Regions from separate parts of the Homo sapiens genome. Here regions 2, 3, 4 and 5 are each linked to region 1. The links are contacts of gene promoters, found by promoter capture Hi-C in blood cells and fetal thymus (Javierre and others, 2016). All regions are on one chromosome and are shown on one strand. Each heading gives the region's core, a stretch centred on a gene start or on the middle of the fragment in contact. The rest is flanking DNA. Distances are from core to core; before and after follow the strand shown. Region 1 holds the start of KIF21B (kinesin family member 21B). Region 2 overlaps DDX59 (DEAD-box helicase 59). Region 3 overlaps KIF14 (kinesin family member 14). Region 4 has its middle 2.6 kb from the start of KIF14. Region 5 holds the start of LOC107985459 (a long non-coding RNA gene).

Region 1 (4,254 bases), core at 977-3,476:
GCCCTGCTGCTCCCTGGTGGCCCAGGAGGGAGCTACTTCTGAGTAGCCGAAGTCCTGAGGCTCTGACATTTAGGAGACCTGAGTTTCCCGCCCGTGTGTATCCCTGCTTCCCCTGACTCAACACCCAGTGACCTGGAGGGATGCAGAGAGGGTGGGCAGCAGCTCTGGAGGCATTTCCCAGCAGTAGAACTGTGAGTCAGAAGGGTCATCTACTGTCGGAAGTCAGAGGGGACCTCCTGCAGGCAGGAAACCAGAGTTGGGCCCCAGAGAAGTCCAGAGATGAGTTGGCGGGAAAGTAGCTCTTCAGAATGCAACATTACCATCCGGGAAGGCTGAACCTGGAGTCCGCTGTGCCTAGAGGAAAAGCCTGGGCCGGCCTAGCTCCCTTCTGCCTGGACATCATCATCCCTTCCACCTTGGTGGTCATCTGGGAAGCCTGGAATAAGATATACATGTCCAAATCTGGAGTCTGTTGCTTATATGCTGGAATTCATACATGTGAGGCTCAGTTTCCCCATCTGCAAAATTTAAAAAGAATAAAAAAGCCTAGCTTACAAGGTTATAGGGAAAAAATGAGAATATGTGCATAAAATACCTTGTGTAGGTGGTCCATATGTGTTAGTCTCCTCCCCACGAATTATTTTGGTTGGAAGATGGGGAGGAATGTTGCAGGATATGACTGCAACATTCTGCTAACCTCCTGGTCCAGGAGAGGTGATCCCCTGGCCCCAGGGAGAGCTTCCTCTAGATTCAAATGCTAATAAAAGGTCCAGGATACCACCAAGACCTCTTCTCCAGCCCCCATCATGGGGGCACTGCTGGCGGTGCTCCTCCTGTTTGCCATGGGGATGAAAAGGATGTGTTGATTGGCCCTTGAAATTTGCCCTTGAAATTATCTTTGGTTTTGATTTGACCTTAATAGGTCAAGCCAAACAGGGATCTGAGCTACTGCATGAAGCAGTTATTGGCGGGGAGGGGGGTGTGAGTGGAGGAGGGAAGGGGAGGAAGATGGTACCAACAGATGCATCCTCAGACCCCAGTCCACACCCTTGCCAAAATCTCTGACATGGTTTCATCATCTGAGGGTAATGTAAGAGGCCTGGAGTCAGACTCCCCTTCCTCCCCTCCCCCAGAGATCCCCATCCACATCTGGGGCTGCAGCTGGGTCCTCCTCTTGGGCCCTTTCCAGGGGAGGGAGCTGGGTGAAGTGAGGGCAGCTGGTGAGGGGCCCTGTGAATGGCCCCAATGTTGGGAGGCAGGGGGCAGGGAAGAGGCGTCTGGGCTCAGAGGGAGGGAGATGGACTGGGAAGGGAATTGTGACTTTGCAGCACTGGTCTCCTCCTCCATCCAGGCCCAGCGTTAAAGTCTCCATGGTCCTCCTTGTCCTTTATACCCATTCCTGCAGGCAGCTGCCCTCCTTCCCTTCCCCACCCACTTCACCGCCCAGCCTCTCTACCCAGGTGCTCGGAACTGAGGGCCCCCTTTGTTCCCTCCTTTCCCCCAGGGCAGCTCAGGCCTCCCACACTGACCCTCTGGCCCCACAGCCACAACAAGCAGAGTGTGAGCCAGGCCCAGTGGGGTCATCTGTGGGTCATAAAGGTCAATGGGACAGTCGTCTAGCAGTAGGGAGGGGCTAGTCTTGGGCTAGGAGCCTGGCCAGGAATCAACTAAAACATGAGCTTTAAGATGCTGCAGGGTGGAGGTGGGGGAAATTTTAGTTAGGGGCTAGCAAGAACTCCCTTCGAGAAGGGTTGGCGAATTTACTGGAATAAATGCAGAAGGGAAGCTTTCCTGGCTCTTTTGAACTATAAACCGTCAATCGCTGTGGGATCCCCGGGAGACCAGGGTTCTTACCATGCTTACCCACGAACTCGCTCTGTAACCTTCGGTAGTTCCCCTCTTTGAATCTCAGTTTCTTCATTTATGAAATGAGGGTCCCATTGAAGCCGAGGTTCTGCTACTCCAGGAGCCGAGGTTCTAACGTGGTCTGCGTCCAGCGCCCCCACCCCTACTCCCACCCCTACCCCCACCCCCACCCTTCAATCCCGCCCCCTACCCCCAGCCACCCCGTGGCCGCGAGCCAAGAGGTCCCTTTAAAGGCGCGAGTCCCGCCCCCACTGCTCATTAGGGCTTTCGATTGGCGGCTCCTGGGCGGGGCGGGGCCCGGCCTGGGCTCGGGGCTGGCTCGGGGCGGGCTCGGGGCCGGATCGGCCCCCGCCCCCTTTGTTCGCGCTGCGGCGGGAGGTGGCTGCCGGGTGGGAGGTGTGTGCGCGTGTGCCGCGCCGTAGGGAGCGGCGGGTCGCGCCGCCGGCTGTCAGCTAGCTCCGCGCCGCCGCCCGATGGCGCGAGGAGGCGCGCGGGCCCAGCCCCGGGGGGCCGGCCGCGGGTGAGCCCCTCGGCCTGCCGCCCGCGAGCATGTCACCTCCAGCCGCCGCCGCCGCAGCCTCCGCCAGCCGCGCCCGCGCCCCCGCCTCCCGCAGCCGCAGCCGCTGCCTCGGGCATTGGCCCCCAGACCCCCGCCTCTGATCCACGCCCAGACCCTAGCTCCAGAGGGCCATGGCCGGCCAGGGGGACTGCTGCGTCAAGGTGGCCGTCAGGTAGGGACCCGGGGCGGGGAAGGGGGCGCGCGGAGAAGCCTCGGGCTTTGTCTCGCGTGGGCTTTGGGCGGGGGGCGCGAGCACCGCTTGGGCTGGAGCCTGCACTCCCGGAGGAGGGGCCGGCGTGGGACGGGATGGAGGGCGCCGCGCGCTGGCCAGTCTGCCGCAGGGGAGCGGCGACCCCGCCGACTACTGGAAGGTGGCTTTGTTTGGGTGGTAATTTTGGGCCCCTCTTGGGAGCCCTTAATGATCAGAAAATCGAATAAACAAGGAAATCCGGTATTTCACACCCAGCTCTGGCCCAGGCCGGAGCGTCTGTGCGTTTCCTCTTCGCCTCCCCACGAGGCTGCTGTCTCATACGGGGATACCAGAGAGGGAAATTTCCCCTCATCCATGCGAGTCAGCTAGTTATGTGCTCTTGGTCCAGCTAGCAAAGGCAGCACACCCACCCTGGGAGCCAGATCTGCAGACAAAGATCGGGTGCGGGGACCAACGGAAAAGCTGGGATGATGCCTTGGCCTTCTGTGGGAAGTCAATGGCTTTGGGGGAGAATCCTACCAGTCCTGTCCCAAGAGGAGATGGGCCTAGGAAGGGAGGAAGAGGTGTATCTGAGGTGCTTCTCTCTGAGAGGGCAGGAGGGTGTGATGCAGATGCCCCATCCTCAGGCACTCAGATAAAATTGAGCAGGGGAGGGTTGCCTAGACTTATCTGGGGTTCCATTCTCAACAGCTCCGGGACTTGAGCCGGCAGAAATGAGACAGGGAGAGGACATGGCTGGGTGGGTTCTATTGGGAGGGGTACACAAAGGTGCAGGAGCAGGAAATGCTGTGAAATTGAGCCATCTGTGTTCTTTGTGCTGGGTGGAGATGCTTCACACCTCACCACTTCTCCCAGTTTTTGCTTTGGGTTTTTCTCTTTGAGAGGGGTGTCTTGGCGGCAGAGTGCCAATCTGGAGCTGCTCACCAAGGTAGGGATGTGGCAAGAACATCTATCTCTGCCCCAGCCCTGTATGATGGAGGGGGCGGGGGATTGTCCAGGTCTAGGGTAGGTCTCTCAGGTCTCTAGATCCCTTGGGTCATATGTGACCCAGATTCCAGGGGTCCTAGGAGGTTGCTCCTAGACAGAGTCAGAGATGGCAATGAAAAAGCTTTCTTCTTCCTGCCCCAGGGCAGATGCCCCTTGCCACGGCCACCTGGCCAGGCCTCTGCAGCCCAAAGAGGAGCTGACACTGATCAGTGCTTGGGTGAAGGGAAGGAGATTGAGGCACCCCCACCCATGCACCCTAGGCAGCACTCAAGAATCACTTGAGCACAGCTTTCCTGGCCCTGAGCAGCCAGAGACAAAGAGGAGCCCTGCAGGTGCCTGGTGGGCTGACTGGGGCGGGGCCAGGCTGCTGCTGGGGCTGACATTGCAGCAGGATCTTGTGGAGGTCGAGGGAGGGGTGCATGGCTGGGGGGTGGGAGTGAGAAATGTAAATATGGCATCTGCAGCAGATTGGGAGAGTCCGAGAACACCATAAAAGGGAAATGAAGCTCTGGCCCCCACCCATTGTGAATGAGGGCTGGGAAGGAAGGGGCTTGGGGGTGCCCTTTCCACAGGGGGTTTCCTTTAGATTCCATCTTGCTGGAGAGAGCTAAACAAAGGCCCCCTACCTCTG
Region 2 (4,188 bases), core at 635-3,134, 360 kb after region 1:
CCTTTCATGTTGGAATCTTTTGAAGGTCAAATCAGATTTATCTGACAGATTTAAAGCCTGTAAAATGTTGTTTTAAGAAATTACAGGTTGATAATTAATGGGATATTGGATCAGTGATTTTTTAAGGTGGACCTCCAGTATATAAAACAGACAAAGGTGATATTAATGCCAAATTATAAGTTCAGCAGTATATATTTATAAAGTAAACAATACAAGTACTTTTGATGGGCATCAAATTTGAAGTTGGGTTAATGGAGTTTAACTGCAGTCTCATATCAACCTCTGCCTTAAATTTATTTTCATTGCAACGAATGGATAACATTATAATTCAAACGCATAAGTAGCTGCAAACTTCTAACAGCTTTTAAACTAAGCTTGCATTCCAATTCTTAAAAAAATATATGTTAATGTATTGGTGTTAGTCTCTAGTTGCCCAGGCTGGAGTGCAGTGGTGCAACCTCTGCTCACTGCAACCTCCGTCTCCCAGGTTCAAGCGATTCTTCTGCCTCAGCCTCCAGAGTAGCTGGGACTACAGGCGCCCACCACCATGCCCAGCTAAGTTTTTGTATTTTTAGTAGAGATGGGATTTCACCATGTTGGCCAGGCTGGTCTCAAACTCCTGAGCTCAGGTGATCCACCTGCCTCGGCCTCCCAAAGCACACATTTTTTAAAAAAACAATCTCAAACTTAAAGAAAGGTGGTAAGTACAGTAAATGGAACTTTTTTTTCCTCCCAAACCTTCTGGAAGTAACTTGCTGACTTGATGCCCTATCACCCCCATATACTTTACAGTATGATTGCTACAAACAAGGACATTATCTTACATAACTGTAATACAATTATGGAATCAGGAAATTAACATTGTGTATTAGTCCATGCTTGCACTGCTATAAAGAAATACCTGAGACTAATTTATAAAGAAAAGAACTTTAATTGGCTCATGGTTCTGCAGGCTGTACAGGAAGCATAGTGGCTTCTGCCTCTAAGGAGGCCTCAGGAAGCTTCCAATCATGGCAGAAGGCAGAGGGGGTGCGAGGAGCTTCACGTGGCCAGAGCAGGAGGAAGAAAGAGAGTGGGGAGGTGCTACACACTTTTAAACAACTAGATCTCACAAGAACTATCATGATGACAGCACCAAGGGGAAGGGTGTTAAACCATGAGAAATAGCCCCCATGATCCAATCACCTCCCTCCAGATCCCACCTCCAACATTGGGGATTACAGTTCGACATGCAATTTGGGTGGGGACACAGATCCAAACAGTATCACGTTGATAGAGTAGATTACATCAGGAATTAATATTGGTATCATCTACTCCTCAGTCCCCATTCACATTTTTATAATTGTTCCATCACTTTTTATAGCACAAGAATCCAGTTCAGAATCACATGTTGCATTTAGTTGTTGTGTCTTTGTCATCTCCTTCAATTTGAAACAGCTCTTCCATCTTTCCTTTTTTCCTCATAATCTTGGCCCTTTTAAGGTTTACAAGCCACTTACTTTGAAGAACATCCCTCATTTGATTAGATTCAAGTTACATGTCTTTGACAGGAATATCACAGAAGAGATGCTTTGTTTTTTTCATTGCATCCTTTTAGGTTGCACAGAGTATCAGTATGTCCTTTTCCTAGTGATAGGATCTGTAAAGTAATTGTCAAGTTTATTTTTTTCCCCTTTGAGTTTAGTAAATATTTTGGGGAGAGTACTTTGAGGTGTACTTTGAAATGTAAATTTCTCATTCTTCACCACACTTTGAATTTATTTATATATTTATTTATATCTGTATGGACTCACAGCTTCCTGTTATTCAAAGGTTTACAATCTATTATCATTATTTGTTTTGATACTCCAGTTGATCTCTATCTGGCCAGTGGAAGCACCTTCAAGTTGGTTTCTATGTCCTTTGTTCAGATCTCCATCATTCTTTGAGTCTTCCTTACCTTCTATCTAAAGAAGATGTTCCATACTTACATTTTTCTTTCCCTGCCCCAGCCCTGGAATCATGCCTTCTCCAAGGAGCCCTGGTTTATTTTACTAGAGGATAGTATTTAAAAAGAAAGATCTGGGCTATGTGCGTTGATTGCTATTGGACTATCACTGCTTCTAGGACTTCCCAGTGGATAGAGCTAGGGAATACAGTCATCGCTGGGCGTCTGCCAGGGATTGGTTCCAGGATCCCCTGCGTATGTACCAAAATCTTTGCAGACTTGAATCTTGCAGTTGGCCCTGCTGAACTCGAGTATTGTTGGTCCGTGTTTGGTTGAAATTGGTATGTTTCAGTGGACTCACACAGTTGAAATCCATGTTGTTCAAGGGTCAGCTGTATATCTAAGTGTGTGTTTTTCTGTATCTATATTTATTAGAAACCATGAGACTATGAGTTCATGTTGATACTTCCAATTCCAATTCAATGCAACAGGATTCATTCATGTTTGTAACTGACAGAAACCTGCCACTCATTTTCATTTATGTATTTGTTTATTTATTTGACCAATCCTCCTCTATGTAGCCTACCTCCCGCCATCAGCACCGCCCTGCCCACAGCGATGCCCTCCTCACCAGACTCCACCCTGCACTCTCCTCAGCCCCTCAGGCTGCAGCACCCCATGCAGGGCCGCCTTTCTGTGGAGGCTCCTGCTTGCCCACCTGTCACTCCCACCCCTCTCACCAGCCTGAGCTCTCTCCCAGGTGCCCTCTGAGAAAACATAACCAAAACCTCTGTTCAGCAAAGTTGCCCTCCAAGAGCAAGGACAACATAAAAAGCTTTTCAGATAAACAAAACTGAGAAAGTTAATACCAGTACACCATGTAAGAGAACTTTAAAACTAAGGTAGTCTACAGATAAAGAAGATTGTGCCAGAAAGGAGGGTGTGGGATGGAAGAAATAATGGTGGCCAAGGAAAATAGTAAGCATGTGGGTAAATCTCAGGAAACATTGAATGAAACAGTAATCATAATGAACAACCTGTAGGTTTCAAAATACAATAGAAGTTAAATACTGGCCAACAGTAGCTTAGAAGCACAGGGGAGATGTGATTGGTATTAAAGCATTTTTCCTTCTTGTTTAAAAAAAGGTAAAAATAAGCTGAATGCAGTAGCTTACACTTGTAATCCCAGCACTTTGGGAGGCCAAGGCGGGAGGATTACTTGAGCCCAGGAGTTTGAGACCAGCCTGGGTAGCATAGAGACCTTGTCTCTGCAAAAAAACAAAAAATTAGCCAGGTGTGGTGGCATGCCTGTAATCCTAGTTACATGGGAGGCTGAGGCAGGAAGACCCCTGGAGCTGGGGAAGTTGAGGCTACAGTGAGCCACGCACTCCCTGCTGGGTGACAGAGCGAGATTATATCAACAACAACAACAAAAAGCCCCCATTGTTAGCCACTAACATGTTATAAAATTATTAAGAGCCTTAAGCAACCTTAGAAATCACTTTGCCCAACCTCTTAATTTAAAAATGAAATAAAAAGCCCAAAGATGTTACGGAATTTTCACTTGTTTATAGAACCATAGCAATCAAACTGCCTACAAGGTCCTTCCTGGTGCCTTGGTGCCTGCCTCAGCCTGCCCCATTCTCCCCATTCCTTACCATTTAGAAACTTCACTGGCCTCCCAGCCTCAGGAATGTCACAGATACTTTTCTCCTTAATCACTCCTCACCTTGCTCATGCCCACTCATCCTTTAGGTTTGACCTGTGTGTTGGGTAGGACTGGATAGGTCCCTCCAGTTATGGCTTAGTGTATTTATCTCATGAGTACTTTCTGGTTTTATCTGTTTCTTCCTTTGTATTACAAGTTTCATGAGAGCAGAGACTATGTCTGGCTTATTCATCACTGAATTCTGGGTGCTTAACACAGTGTCTGGTACATATTAGTTGCTCAATCAATATGGAATGAATGAATGAAAATAGCTATTACTGATTTTTTTAATTTGCTTTTTCTCTTTTATTTAGGTTATCATAGCAACCCCTGGGCGACTTCTGGATATAATAAAGCAGAGCTCTGTAGAACTCTGTGGTGTAAAGATTGTGGTAGTAGATGAAGTAAGTAGTGGTATTTAAAAAACAGTTACATGATTTTACACAATTTATGGAAAGTATAGTTATATAATTTCATTGTATGTTCAGTACCTTTTCTCTCTCTCAAAAAAAACCTCAGGGACTTTTAAAGCATTGCAGCAGGTTCCTGTGTA
Region 3 (3,716 bases), core at 9-2,508, 420 kb after region 1:
CTGTCTCTACTAAAAATACAAAAATTAGCTTGGCATGGTGGCGCGTGCCTGTAGTCCCAGCTACTCAGGAGGCTGATGCAGGAGAATCGCTTGAACCCGGGGGCAGAGGTTTCAGTGAGCCGAGATTTCACCACCGCACTCCAGCCTGGCGACAGAGCAAGACTCCATTTCAAGAAAAAAAAGGAAGTCAGCTGTCTTCTTCACTTGCCCATGTTTGTGCAGTTTACTATTGGCAACATCAAGAAACTTAAACAAAACTTGACATTTGCTTCTATGATTTCTATATGTTTAAAGCTTCTGGTCACAAAGTTGAAAATGTATAATGTAACAATAAAGAAAAATTTTAATGTCTGAAATTTAACGAATATGTTTTAGAGAGCATTTAAAAGTATATAAATCATAGCTACTGCAAGATTTAACATTCAAATGTCTTACTGAAAAACTAGGAAGACAAGCTGGGTACGGTGGCTGACGCCTGCAATCCCAGTACTTTGGGAGGCTGAGGTGGGCGGATCACTTGAGGTCAGGAGTTCCCGACCAGCCTAGCCAACATGGTGAAACTCCTTCTCTACTGAAAATACAAAAGTTAGCTGGTGTGGTGGCACTGTCTTGTAATCTCAGCTACTCAGAAGGCCGAGGTAGGAGAATCGCTTGAACCCAGGAGGCAGAGGTTGCACTGAGCCAAGATTGCACCACTGTACTCCAGCCTGGGCCACAGAGCAGGACTCTGTCTCAAAACAGACAAACAAACAAACAAAAAACTAGTAAGACATCTGATGCTAAAATATATTGTTCTAATTATTGTCTATTAGACAATTCTAATAGCAGTTTTTTAAGAATAAAAAAACTAGTAAGACTTGATGCTACAATATATTGTTGCATATTGTGCTACTATGAACAGTTTTTTATATTGAAGCTGTTTCCTAATGCCTTACAGATTTGTTTTTGTGAGAGTTTTTGTGGTTTTTTTTTTTCCTGGATAAAATAAAGACAAATCTCTTACCTTAAACTCAAGATGTAGAAAAAGTGATCATTTCAAGTTACATGAAATATTTGTCATACTCCTAATGATGCATGTATTTGCTTCTTCTAGCTGAGAGTGAGGGAACATCCTGTTTATGGACCATATGTTGAAGCACTGTCAATGTAAGTATTTGGCTCAGCAAGGGCAAAGAGGATAAAACAAATGAATAGAGTGAATGTTACTCTCCCATAATCTTTATTGTATTCTCATTGGCCTTCCTAACTTTGAAACCCTGGGTAACTATTTATTTAGCCTTCTACCCTTGATATTGTCCAATTAGGTTTTCCCTCTCTTTCCATAGAGTGTTAGTTACTTGTTTTAATACTTGCATGTGTCTTTCATAGTACCTGTAAAGTGTCTGCCATGGAGTATTCATTATACTATGAAGTAAATATTTGCTTTTTCTTTCTTTTACCCCTTCCTTTCACTATTAATTTAATCTTCCCTCTCAACCTGCTTTTTATACCTATGACTCTAAGCTAGACAGGGAAGAGGGTACTAAGAAGAGTTAAGAGTTTGATGCATGCTAGGAGTCATTTACTTTTTTTTCCAACACTGCAAATGCTTTCTTAAAGGAAAGGAAAAGTTATTAAGTATTAACTCAGCTGCATTTAATACATCTGGGATTGTATTGGGACCCATATACACCCACATATAAATATACCTATGCATATACATATGTGTTAAAGTATATCTTTTGGTATTGTGACTTAGACTTGAATATTAAGATGCTAAGGTGCTTCATTGTATTAAGAAAAATCATACTTTTTGTTAAAATTAAAGCATTATTTTATTTCCTGTCCTTCAAGAATGGGGAAAATAAAAGATTCTGGGAGAATCAATAAAATAATATTCATGAATTAGTCCATTGTGATCTTCAGCGTAAATATGTAATTGAAATGTTATTGTTTTATGAGAACAAGAGTATAATCATCAGTAAAATTGATTTTGTCTTTTCACTTCTTAAAAATAGGAACATTGTCAGTTCTTACGCTGATATCCAGGTAAGATTGATTTTGTTTTCTTTTCACTAGATAGAAAGAGCATAATCCTAAATATTTATAAGAATATTTTTTCTTAATTGCTGTTTTACAAATAAAAGGTTAGTTTCCTTAATTTATCACAAACCGATTTTGTTAAGTTTTAATCAAAATAATTGCTCTTCTTTATTAAAAATGTTGACCTTCATGTAAGCTTAGAGTTATGGAAACAGCCTTTTAAAGTTATTATTTCCTGCCTCAGATTTCTATGACAGAAAAAAAGGCAATGGGAATACAAATTATTAAAAGATAAATATTTACTCATTTCATTTTATAAATTAATTACAAATGTGTATATGTTATCTCTCTTAATTTTTATATCATTGAGTTACAGTCTGCTGATCTGAATTACAAATGTGTATATGTTGTCTCTCTTAATTTTTATATCATTGAGTTACAGTCTGCTGATCTGATCTTCCTTCCTTTTTTCTTATAAGAGTTGGCTAGAATTGGGAAATAAACAAAGAGCTACTGCTGCTACTGGTATGAATGATAAAAGTTCCCGATCTCATTCAGTTTTCACCCTGGTGATGACCCAGACCAAGGTATTTTTTTTAAAAGTTCCCGATCTCTTTCAGTTTTCACCCTGGTGATAACCCAGACCAAGGTATTTTTTTAAAAAGTTCCCGATCTCATTCAGTTTTCACCCTGGTGATCACCCAGACCAAGGTATTTTTTTTCCACAGGCAAGATAGTAAATACATTTAAGTTTCATGTTTTTCTTATTGTCTTCTTTAAATCAAAAGGTAAAAGTACAGTCATATAAATATATAAACTTAATTTGATTGTAGGAAATATGCCTTAGTTTCAATGACTTTTGGTCAATGACCAAATGACTTATGGCAGTATACCGTTTACCAGATTTTTAAATCAATAATAGATGCTTGTTATCATGATAACATTGATATGATCATATCAATATATGATAGTATATTTTCATATATAGTAATTATGCAGAGTATTTAGAAAAACATCAGAAAGTAAAAGATTTTTTAAAATTTAGCCATAGGTTCCACCATTCAGATAAACCCCTCTAAACATTTTGGTATATAGTCTTTCAATTTTTTTACCATCACAATTAAATTCACTTAAAATCACACTGTTAAAATCTGTAACAATTTTATGTTATTAAAATTTTTATAAAATAATTTTTAATAGCTATATAATATTCCATTAACTATTACAGTTCCTCAAGTTTTTCTCTACTGTTGGACATTTATATTATTTTTAAATGTTTTGCTATTATAATGCTGGGATAAGCAACATCTTTGTGCATTAAACTTTTTCTTTATTTATTGTTATTTCCTTAATATAACTGAGTGGTTATGGATTTTAATCTCTTTGAAGTAATTTATTTAATTTTGGCATAATCTATCCACTGCTCAATATATTCTTTTCAGTAGACCGTGTGAATATTTTTGTGTTATAAATTATCACAGATTCATGAAGGGATGATCTTAGGCCAGGTGCAGTGGCTCACGCCTGTAATCCCAGCACTTTAGGAGGCCGAGGCAGGAGGATCACTTGAGCTCAGGAGTTTGAGACTAGTCTGAGCAACATAGCGAGACCTTGTCTGTACTAAAAAATAAAAAAAAGTAGCAGGTGTAGCAGCATGTGCTTGTAGTCCCAGCTACTTGGGAGCCTGAGGTGGG
Region 4 (3,873 bases), core at 695-3,194, 400 kb after region 1:
TGTGAATACACAAACTAAAAATTGATTATAAAAACAACTAAACATGTGTCATTCTAGGCAATTCTAGGCAGCCTAGACACTGCTAGTATTGACATGTACCACCGAAAAGAAATGAGATTATGAACTATTTTGGGGTTAGTACAGACAGCTGAGTGATTTGTACATACTCAACATTCTTATTGAGATCACCTAATACCTCTCTGTAAATTTGTTGAAAAGTAAGTGACTTGAAGCTTTTCATTATCCATTTTAGGAAAATACCTACAAGTCTACTTGGAGGAATCCCCAGCATTTTCAACAGGATGTCAGAATGACCTTGGGCTATGTTGGCAAAGCACAATGGGAAGAAGACAACCAATTGAAGGTCAAACTAGGCCTTAAAAAAAATTGTTCTTCCTAAATGAAACTTTATGTAAGACCCAAGCTTCCTTTATGTAAAAATAGGATACTCACTAGGCTTTGGGGCTGACAATGGTTTTTAAATCTTGCTAATCTTCCCTGGAATGAAACCAGCATGACTCAAAGAGAAAAAGAGAGTCTATAATATTTTCTAATCCCTGAGTTCTTTTCTTTATATATTAAAAAGGATTACTAGGCTGGGTGTGGTGGCTCACGCCTGTAATCCCAGCACTTTGGGAGGCCGAGGGGAGTGGATCACCTGAGTTCGAGACCAGCCTAACCAACATGGAGAAACCCTGTCTCTACTAAAAATACAAAATTAGCCAGGCGTGGTGGCGCATGCCTGTAATCCCAGCTACTCAGGAGGCTGCGGCAGGAGAATTGCTTGAACTCGGGAGGCAGAGCCAAGATCGCACCACTGCACTCCAGCCTGGGCAACAAGAGTGAAACTCTGTCTCAAAATAATATTAATGATAATAATAATAATAATAATAGGGATTACTTGCATAATTGTTCTTTTAAAATTATTGGCAGTATTGCTGAATGTATTTAGATTTTTTCACCAAGTGACAACAACTGAATTCATAAAGATTCATCAACAAGACCTGATAAAAAAAAATGTAAGCATATTATAGTGGATACTTCCAAGACTCTTGGTCTAACATGTATTAGAAAGCAGAAGGAGCCCAGGCACAGGGGCTCCCGCCGGTAATCCCAAAGCTTTGGGAAGCCAAGGCAGGTGGATCGCTTGAGCTCAGGAGTTAGAGACCAGCCTGGGCAACATGGTGAAATCCCGTCACCACAAAAAAATGCAAAAATTAACTGGGCGTGGTGGCATGCACCTGTAGTCCCAGCTACTCTGGAGGCTGAGGTGAGGGGAATCACCTGAGCCGGGGGAATCACCTGAGCCCAGGGAAGTTGAGGCTGCTGTGAGCCATGGTCATGACACTGCCCTCCAGCCTGGACAACAGATTGAGACCCTGTCTCAAAAAAAAAAAAAAAAAAAGAAAAAAGAAAAGAAAGAAAAAGAAAATTAGGGCCGGGCGCGGTGGCTCACGCCTGTAATCCCAACACTTTGGGAGGCCGAGGCGGGTGGATCACGAGGTCAGGAGATCGAGATCATCCTGGCTAACATGGTGAAACCCTGTCTCTACTAAAAATACAAAAAATTAGCCAGGCGTGGTGGCGCATGCCTATAGTCCCAGCTGCTCAGGAGGCTGAGGCAGGAGAATGGCGTGAACCCGGGAGGCAGAGCTTGCTGTGAGCCAAGATGGCGCCACTGCACTCTAGCCTGGGCGACAGAGCAAGACTCCGTCTCAAAATAATAATAATAATAATAATAAAAATAAAAAAAAGAAAATTAGAAGGAAAATACAAAATATGACAGATTTTAAAATACCTTTAGGTTCATGCAGTTTGTTTAACTCTTGTCCTTATTATAAAGCCATAGACATTTGAGATCCAGAAAGAATCTGTAAAAACTGTTGTACAGGGTAGTGGTACAGAGCACAGGAAATGGTGTTTAATTTCCTGAGTTCTGAACCTAACTCTGTGACCCAGTAGTTGTATAATGTCAGGCAAGCTATTTAACTCCTTGGAAACCCACTTTCCCTCATGTGTAAAACAGCGATAATCATAATACCTATCTTATAAGGTTATGGAGTTAGGTTATTTATCTTGCACAAAGAAAGGACTCAATCCTTGCTGGTTATGATGATTTAATCCAGCACTTTCGTTTCACAAGCGAGGGATCTACAGTAAGGAGACTTATCTCTGGTCTCACCATTAGGTTGAGACAGATCCTCAGCTAGAATCCAAAGTGCTCTTACCACTTTTCCACAACTTTTGCTTTGTCCTTTGCATTTTAAAATTATTAATTTCCTATTGCACCTTTTCGTTATAGACCCCAAGTGCAACTAGATACAAACACCAGGAAAATACATACCACATTTTAATAATTTAAAAATTGTGAAATTTGCTAAATTGTAATAGATTTAATCTTAGGCCGGGCGCAGTGGCTCACGCCTGTAATCCCAGCACTTTGGGGGGCTGAGGTAGGTGGATCACCTAAGGTCGAGAGTTCGAGACCAGCTTGACCAACATGGAGAAACCCCTTCTCTACTAAAAATACAAAATTAGCTGGGGTTGTGGTGCACGCCTGTAATCCCATCTACTCGGGAGGCTGAGGCAGGAGAATCGCTTGAACCTGGGAGACGGACGTTGCGGTGAGCCAAGATCAAGCCATTGCACTCCAGCCTGGGCAACTAGAGCGAAACTCCGTCTCAAAAAAAAAAAATTTAATCTTAAGAGATCATTAATTAGCATGAGTTAATCATTTTTCTTTAAATCTTACATAATCCAGAAAGCTTCAAACGTGCCAGTTTTACTTCGACTCTTTCCACGTTTTCTTTCTGTTTGTCTCCCTCTGGTGGATTTAAAAAAATACTTGCTTTATTCTATTTATGAGCTTATTTTCCTTTTAAAATTGAAAAAGGTCTTTATGTCTTCTGTCATGTTTAATATATATTTCCAGTTACATTTTATTTTTATTATTTTGAATTATACATATGTTTAAAATTTTTATGTATTTGAGTTTGTCTGTCTTTTCTTTGACATATCTTGCTTTGTTTCTAAATTGAATGATCATTTTCCCATAGATGTGATAACTTTTTTTTTTTTTTTTCTTGAGACGGAGTTTCTCTCTTGTCCCCCAGGCTGGAGTGCAATGGCGCGATCTCGGCTCACTGCAACCTCCGCCTACCCGGTTCACGTGATTCTCCTGCCTCAGCCTCCTGAGTAACGGGGATTACAGGGGCCCGCCACCACGGCTGCCTAATTTTTGTATTTTTAGGAGAGACGGGGTTTCACCATGTTAGCCAGGCTGGTTTTAAACTCCTGACTGCAAGTGATCCGCCTGCCTTGGTCTCCCAAAGTGCTAAGATTACAGGCGTGAGCCACCGCACCTGGCCCTGATAAATATTATATTCTATTTTCTGATAGTTTCCTTATACCTTAATTTTAATTGAGTTTTAGAATGATTTTTAGAGTAAGATTTAGAATGAGTACTTTATCATCTGTTTGGTTGGTCTATATAATTGGAGCTACTTATGGTCTCTATCTCAGTGAATACTTCTTCAATATCTCTGTACTTTTTGCCTGTTTAAAAAACATTGTTGCTTTACAATATCTATTTATCTAGTCTTTCTCATTTATTTGGTTATTTTTCAGAATGTATTTGTAATATTTTTTCAGATTTCAAAATCTTATGGGGGCTGGGCGGCGCAGTGGCTCACGCCTGGCAGCTTACAAGGTCAGGAATTCGAGACCAGCCTGGCCAATATGGTGAAACCCCGTCTCTACTAAAAATACAAAAATTAGCTGGGCGTGGTGGTGCGCGCCTGTAATCCCAGCTACTCCAGAGGCTGAGGCAGGAGAATCGCTTGAACCAGGGAGGCGGAGGTTGCAGGGGCCACT
Region 5 (4,017 bases), core at 1,265-3,764, 490 kb after region 1:
TATGGGGAATAGACTGTTGGGGCTAAGACCAGAAGTCAGTAGATATACAAGAGGAGACAGTGGTGGTCATCAAGTGTTGTCCTCCCACAAACTCCAATAGACTATTCTCCAGTCACACAGGACCAAACTTACAGAGTTCATAAAAATGAACCTTTGGCAAGGATGTTATCCCAGCACTTGAAATAGTTCACATACATATCTGGGGGTCAGGAAGTCTTCCCTTGAGGCTCTGTTGAAGTCTAAGCTTATTAAACAACCACGAAATATTAGAAACCAGTACCAAGATCCAACTAGGGAGCAGTGTGGGATCCACAAAGTTTGGGACAATTGGCTGTGTTTTGTAAAGCAGGAACAAGTTATCCATATTGGTGTCAACGTGACCATGGATTAAAAGTCTTGAGTATGGTGGCTCACGCCTGTAATCCCAGCACTGTGGGAGGCCGAGGCGGGTGGATCCTTGAGACCAGGAGTTTGAGACCTGCCTGGCCAACATGGTGAAACCCCATCTCTACTAAAAATACAAAAATTAGCCGGGCGTGGTGGTGGGCACCTGTAATCCCAGCTACTTGGGAGGCTGAGGCAGGAGAATCCCTTGAACCTGAAAGGTGGAGGTTGCAGTGAGCTGATATTGCACCACTGCACTCCAGCCTGGGTGACAGAGTGAAACTCTGTCTCAAAAAAAAAAGTGTCTTCAGTATGATAAACCCACACAGGAAGAATTGATTAACTGTTGTTAATTAGATGACAAGAACAACAAAGTCGAGTGGGCTTTGTGGAGTGTGCTACCTGAGAGTCCATTTGGTCAGGGACCTAACTGGCCTGATGTGATCCCATAGTGAGGGAGGGAGCAGGGGAAATGACTGCCTAGTCCTCACTCTCCTGCCTCCCTCCAGACTCCCCCTGGGGCCAAATCCAACAAGAAGCCAGACAAGGCAAGGGAACCCCCTGGAATGGGCCATATGGTTCAGCCTCCCCAGCATACAGCCAAGTGGAAGAGGATTTAGTTTAGACCCAGAAAAGCAAGCAATTTCAAGGTCCTATTGGGAGTGTGGAGGAAATGCCCTTCCCAGTCTCTTCCCCCATTGGAGGGGGAATTCAAGAATTAGGATAGAGAGGCCAGGCATGGTGGCTCACGCCTGTAATCCCAGCACTTTGGGAGGCTGAGGCGGGCAGATCACTTGAGGTCAGGAGTTTGAGATTAGCCTGGCCAACATGGTGAAACCCTGTCTCTATTAAAAATATAAAAATTAGCCAGGCGTGGTGGCGGATGCCTGTAATCCCAGCTATTTGGGAGGCTGAGGCAGGAGAATTGCTTGAACCTGGGAGGCGGAGGTTGCAGTGAGCTGAGATCGTGCCACTGCACTCCAGCCTGAGCAACAAGAGTAAAATCTCCATCTCAAAAAAAAAAAAAAAAAAGAAAAAAGAAAAAAAAGAATTAGGATAGAGAGATTGGGCATAGTGCCTGCCTTCCAGTGTGAAATTAATGGAATAGGACTTTGTAAGGAACGCTAGGTGGGATAGGGGACAAATGTTTCATTCACGTAATAAAGTCAAAGTCATGTTAATAGAGGAGTTGATCTTGAATGAAGACTTGATGAGGCTTATTAATAGGATTGACTTTCCCTTTTCCTAAGTGATAATCAAAGAAAAACAAATGGAGGGGAGGGAATCTACCAAACTGCAACAAGGAGAAAAGGAATCACCCCACATCATTTCTTCCCTGCCCCTTTCCCCTCCCTCTTGGGACTAGAAGCTGCTCCATCTCCTCTACCCAGCAGCGAAACAGAGAGGGAGGCTGGGGCCCACCCTCCCACCAGAGGCTGTGAAAACATGCAATACCCGTGAAACCTGTTCACTTCTGGGGGAAAGAAAGTCTGCAGAGAGCGGAAGGAGACAGGTCTTCAGAAAGAGAGGGCATAAAGGGAAAAGGCCCTTTTGTCTGTTGCAGGAGGAGGGAGACTGTGTGAAAGTGACTTAGCACTGTGCCCAGGTGCAAAGTTAGTGCCAAATAAGTGTTAACTGTGGCTTTCTTTCTTCTCTCTCCTCTCTCTCTCTCTCTCACACACACACACACACATGCAGGCACAAGCAGATTCTACTACAAATACCTGTCTTCTGCTATAGGACCATACTCTCACCTGACATCATACTCAGGTAAGTGACATGGGCGAGGTGTGGGAGACTTTAGTAGTGTCCTCTCTGAGATCTCCCCGGGATAGGGCATGGTAAGGCAGCATAGATGCCGATCTCACCAGCCATTACAAAATGCAAAATTTTGCTTCTTTGGAGGTTTTGGCTTAATGTGGGCTCAGTTCCACTGCACCTCTATGGAGTGCAGAGGATGTGGTGGTGTGGCCTCGATGCTTTGAACTAGCTTGAATGCAGGAGCCCAGGGCCCCGAGGAAGGATCACAGCTGCACTGTGGGGAAGTGGGGGGTGCAGCTGCTTAGCTGAGCAGAATGGGAGTGGCTGCAACAGCCTGTAAATGTGCTTGATTTTAGGGTCTTTATCCAAATAAAATATGGCTTGCTGACAGGTTAGGGAACACACCTCACTTCACACATAAACCAGCACTGACATGTTCATTTATTTCTGTAAGGTTTGCAGTCACCTAATGGGGTCGGGTTTACAGGGTGGCCCTTTAGCCCCCACATTTTTTTTCCCTATCAAGTCAAGAAGACTGAAATTCCTGTTGCAAACACCAAAGCCTCTAGGAGAGGCAGAAAAATGACATAGAGCACAGAGCCAACCAATGCAATCCACAAAAATGAGAGTGTATATGCTTAACCATTCCGGAAATATGATAAACACATTTATTTTATTTATTTATTTTTTGAGACAGAGTCTCACTTTGTTGCCCCGGCTGGAGTGCAGTGGCACGATCTTGGCTCGCTGCAACCTCTGCCCCCCGGCTTCAAGTGATTCTCCTGCCTCAGCCTCCTGAGTAGCTGGGATTACAGGTGTGCACCACCACGCCCAGCTAATTTTTGTATTTTTAGTAGAGACGGGGTTTTACCATATTGGCCAGGCTGGTCTCGAACTCCTGACTTCAAGTGATCTGCCTGCCTCAGCTTCCCAAAGTGTTGGGATTACAGGTGTGAACCACCATACCTGGTGGATAAGCACATTTAAAGAGATGCCCACACACTCACATACTGCCTGACATTGTTCATTAATCTTTACAGGAGCCCCTTAAGCTCACCATTTTATACACGGAGAAGAGGTTAAAATTCACACAGCTAACAAGGGCCAGGGCTGAGATTTGAACCTAGTGCACTCTGGTGAGAGGTCTCACCTTCAAACATCCTACCTCGCTGCTGGAGGTGACCACTTAGCAATATTTGCAAAAGGTGCTACAGTTTAGTAAAACAGAAGTGCTTCCTGATTACCTTCCATTCTTGTTAGTCATTTAGGGGTCTGCCAGCTTTTATCACTGGTTAAAATGGTAACCACTTTTCATTCTAAATGAATCCTGCCCTCTAATTAGGAGCTTTAGTAACCTTAGAAGGTGATCTAATGCAAGTAAAATTTAAAAAGATTTTTCACACTTCACTTTTAAAATATGAAATCATGCAGGCAGCTTTGAACCAGTTTTATAACTGTTAGGTTTCCCCCCAGCTGTATAATACCCAGGAAATCAGGCCACCTCACCTTTCTGAGCTTTCAGAACAAACAAAAACTCCAGTAAATCTGGCTTGCTTTATGTTAGTGGCTCTAATTACAACTGAGGGGTCCTGTTCCCCTCTTGCAGCCTCTTTGAGACCTTATGTTAATGGGAGAGCTTCACAGAGTCACTCGTGGTGTTTTCAGTTATGCAGTTTTTTGTTTTTTTTTTTAAACCTGATTTTCTGCTGACACTTACTATTTCTTAAAGTGGCTTTACACTTCTCTTCTTTTGAGTTTGAGCCATGGATGGAAAAACCAGGCAGCTAGTTGTCAGCTCTGGGCTTGGTCTTTATTCTTTGAATGATGCTCCTTAGTTCCCATGGGCAAGGACAAAGCAGGGGACTGTCCTGG

What was found. The method cuts DNA at HindIII sites, captures the fragments that hold promoters and counts their contacts. A CHiCAGO score of 5 or more calls a contact.
Region 2: a contact is called between a fragment that was not itself captured here and the fragment with the promoter of KIF21B in region 1, in 1 of 17 cell types (naive CD8 T cells). The highest score is 5.1, in naive CD8 T cells.
Region 3: a fragment that was not itself captured here is called in contact with the fragment with the promoter of KIF21B in region 1 in 1 of 17 cell types (total B cells); the score reaches 5.0 in total B cells.
Region 4: a contact is called between a fragment that was not itself captured here and the fragment with the promoter of KIF21B in region 1, in 4 of 17 cell types (naive CD4 T cells, naive CD8 T cells, fetal thymus and 1 more). The highest score is 9.0, in naive CD4 T cells.
Region 5: a contact is called between a fragment that was not itself captured here and the fragment with the promoter of KIF21B in region 1, in 1 of 17 cell types (fetal thymus). The highest score is 6.6, in fetal thymus.

Annotation. Positions count from the first base shown.
Region 1 is chr1:201,021,686-201,025,939 of GRCh38, reverse strand. KIF21B (kinesin family member 21B) reads left to right here and starts at 2,226. Exons shown (of 35, transcript NM_001252102.2): 1 at 2,226-2,597. The coding sequence starts at 2,557. It overlaps LOC101929305 (a long non-coding RNA gene), which reads right to left and starts at 1,991. Exons shown (of 4, transcript NR_188464.1): 1 at 1,855-1,991; 2 at 321-436. RefSeq lists silencers at 1,501-1,658, 2,010-2,369, 2,770-2,819 and an enhancer at 3,424-4,031. The HindIII fragment of the contact is 1,958 bases long and covers 1,789-3,746 here.
Region 2 is chr1:200,658,878-200,663,065 of GRCh38, reverse strand. It overlaps DDX59 (DEAD-box helicase 59), which reads left to right. Exons shown (of 8, transcript NM_001031725.6): 4 at 3,950-4,039. Among named protein-coding and RNA genes, the nearest start is that of DDX59-AS1, 8.5 kb to the left of the region's middle. The HindIII fragment of the contact is 1,761 bases long and covers 1,004-2,764 here.
Region 3 is chr1:200,604,176-200,607,891 of GRCh38, reverse strand. KIF14 (kinesin family member 14) reads left to right here. Exons shown (of 30, transcript NM_014875.3): 6 at 1,094-1,146; 7 at 1,998-2,028; 8 at 2,502-2,609. Among named protein-coding and RNA genes, the nearest start is that of KIF14, 15 kb to the left of the region's middle. The HindIII fragment of the contact is 1,924 bases long and covers 297-2,220 here.
Region 4 is chr1:200,621,428-200,625,300 of GRCh38, reverse strand. No RefSeq gene overlaps it. Among named protein-coding and RNA genes, the nearest start is that of KIF14, 2.6 kb to the right of the region's middle. The HindIII fragment of the contact is 1,646 bases long and covers 1,122-2,767 here.
Region 5 is chr1:200,529,081-200,533,097 of GRCh38, reverse strand. It overlaps LOC107985459 (a long non-coding RNA gene), which reads left to right and starts at 2,059. Exons shown (of 3, transcript XR_001737816.3): 1 at 2,059-2,154. The HindIII fragment of the contact is 4,535 bases long and covers 247-4,017 here.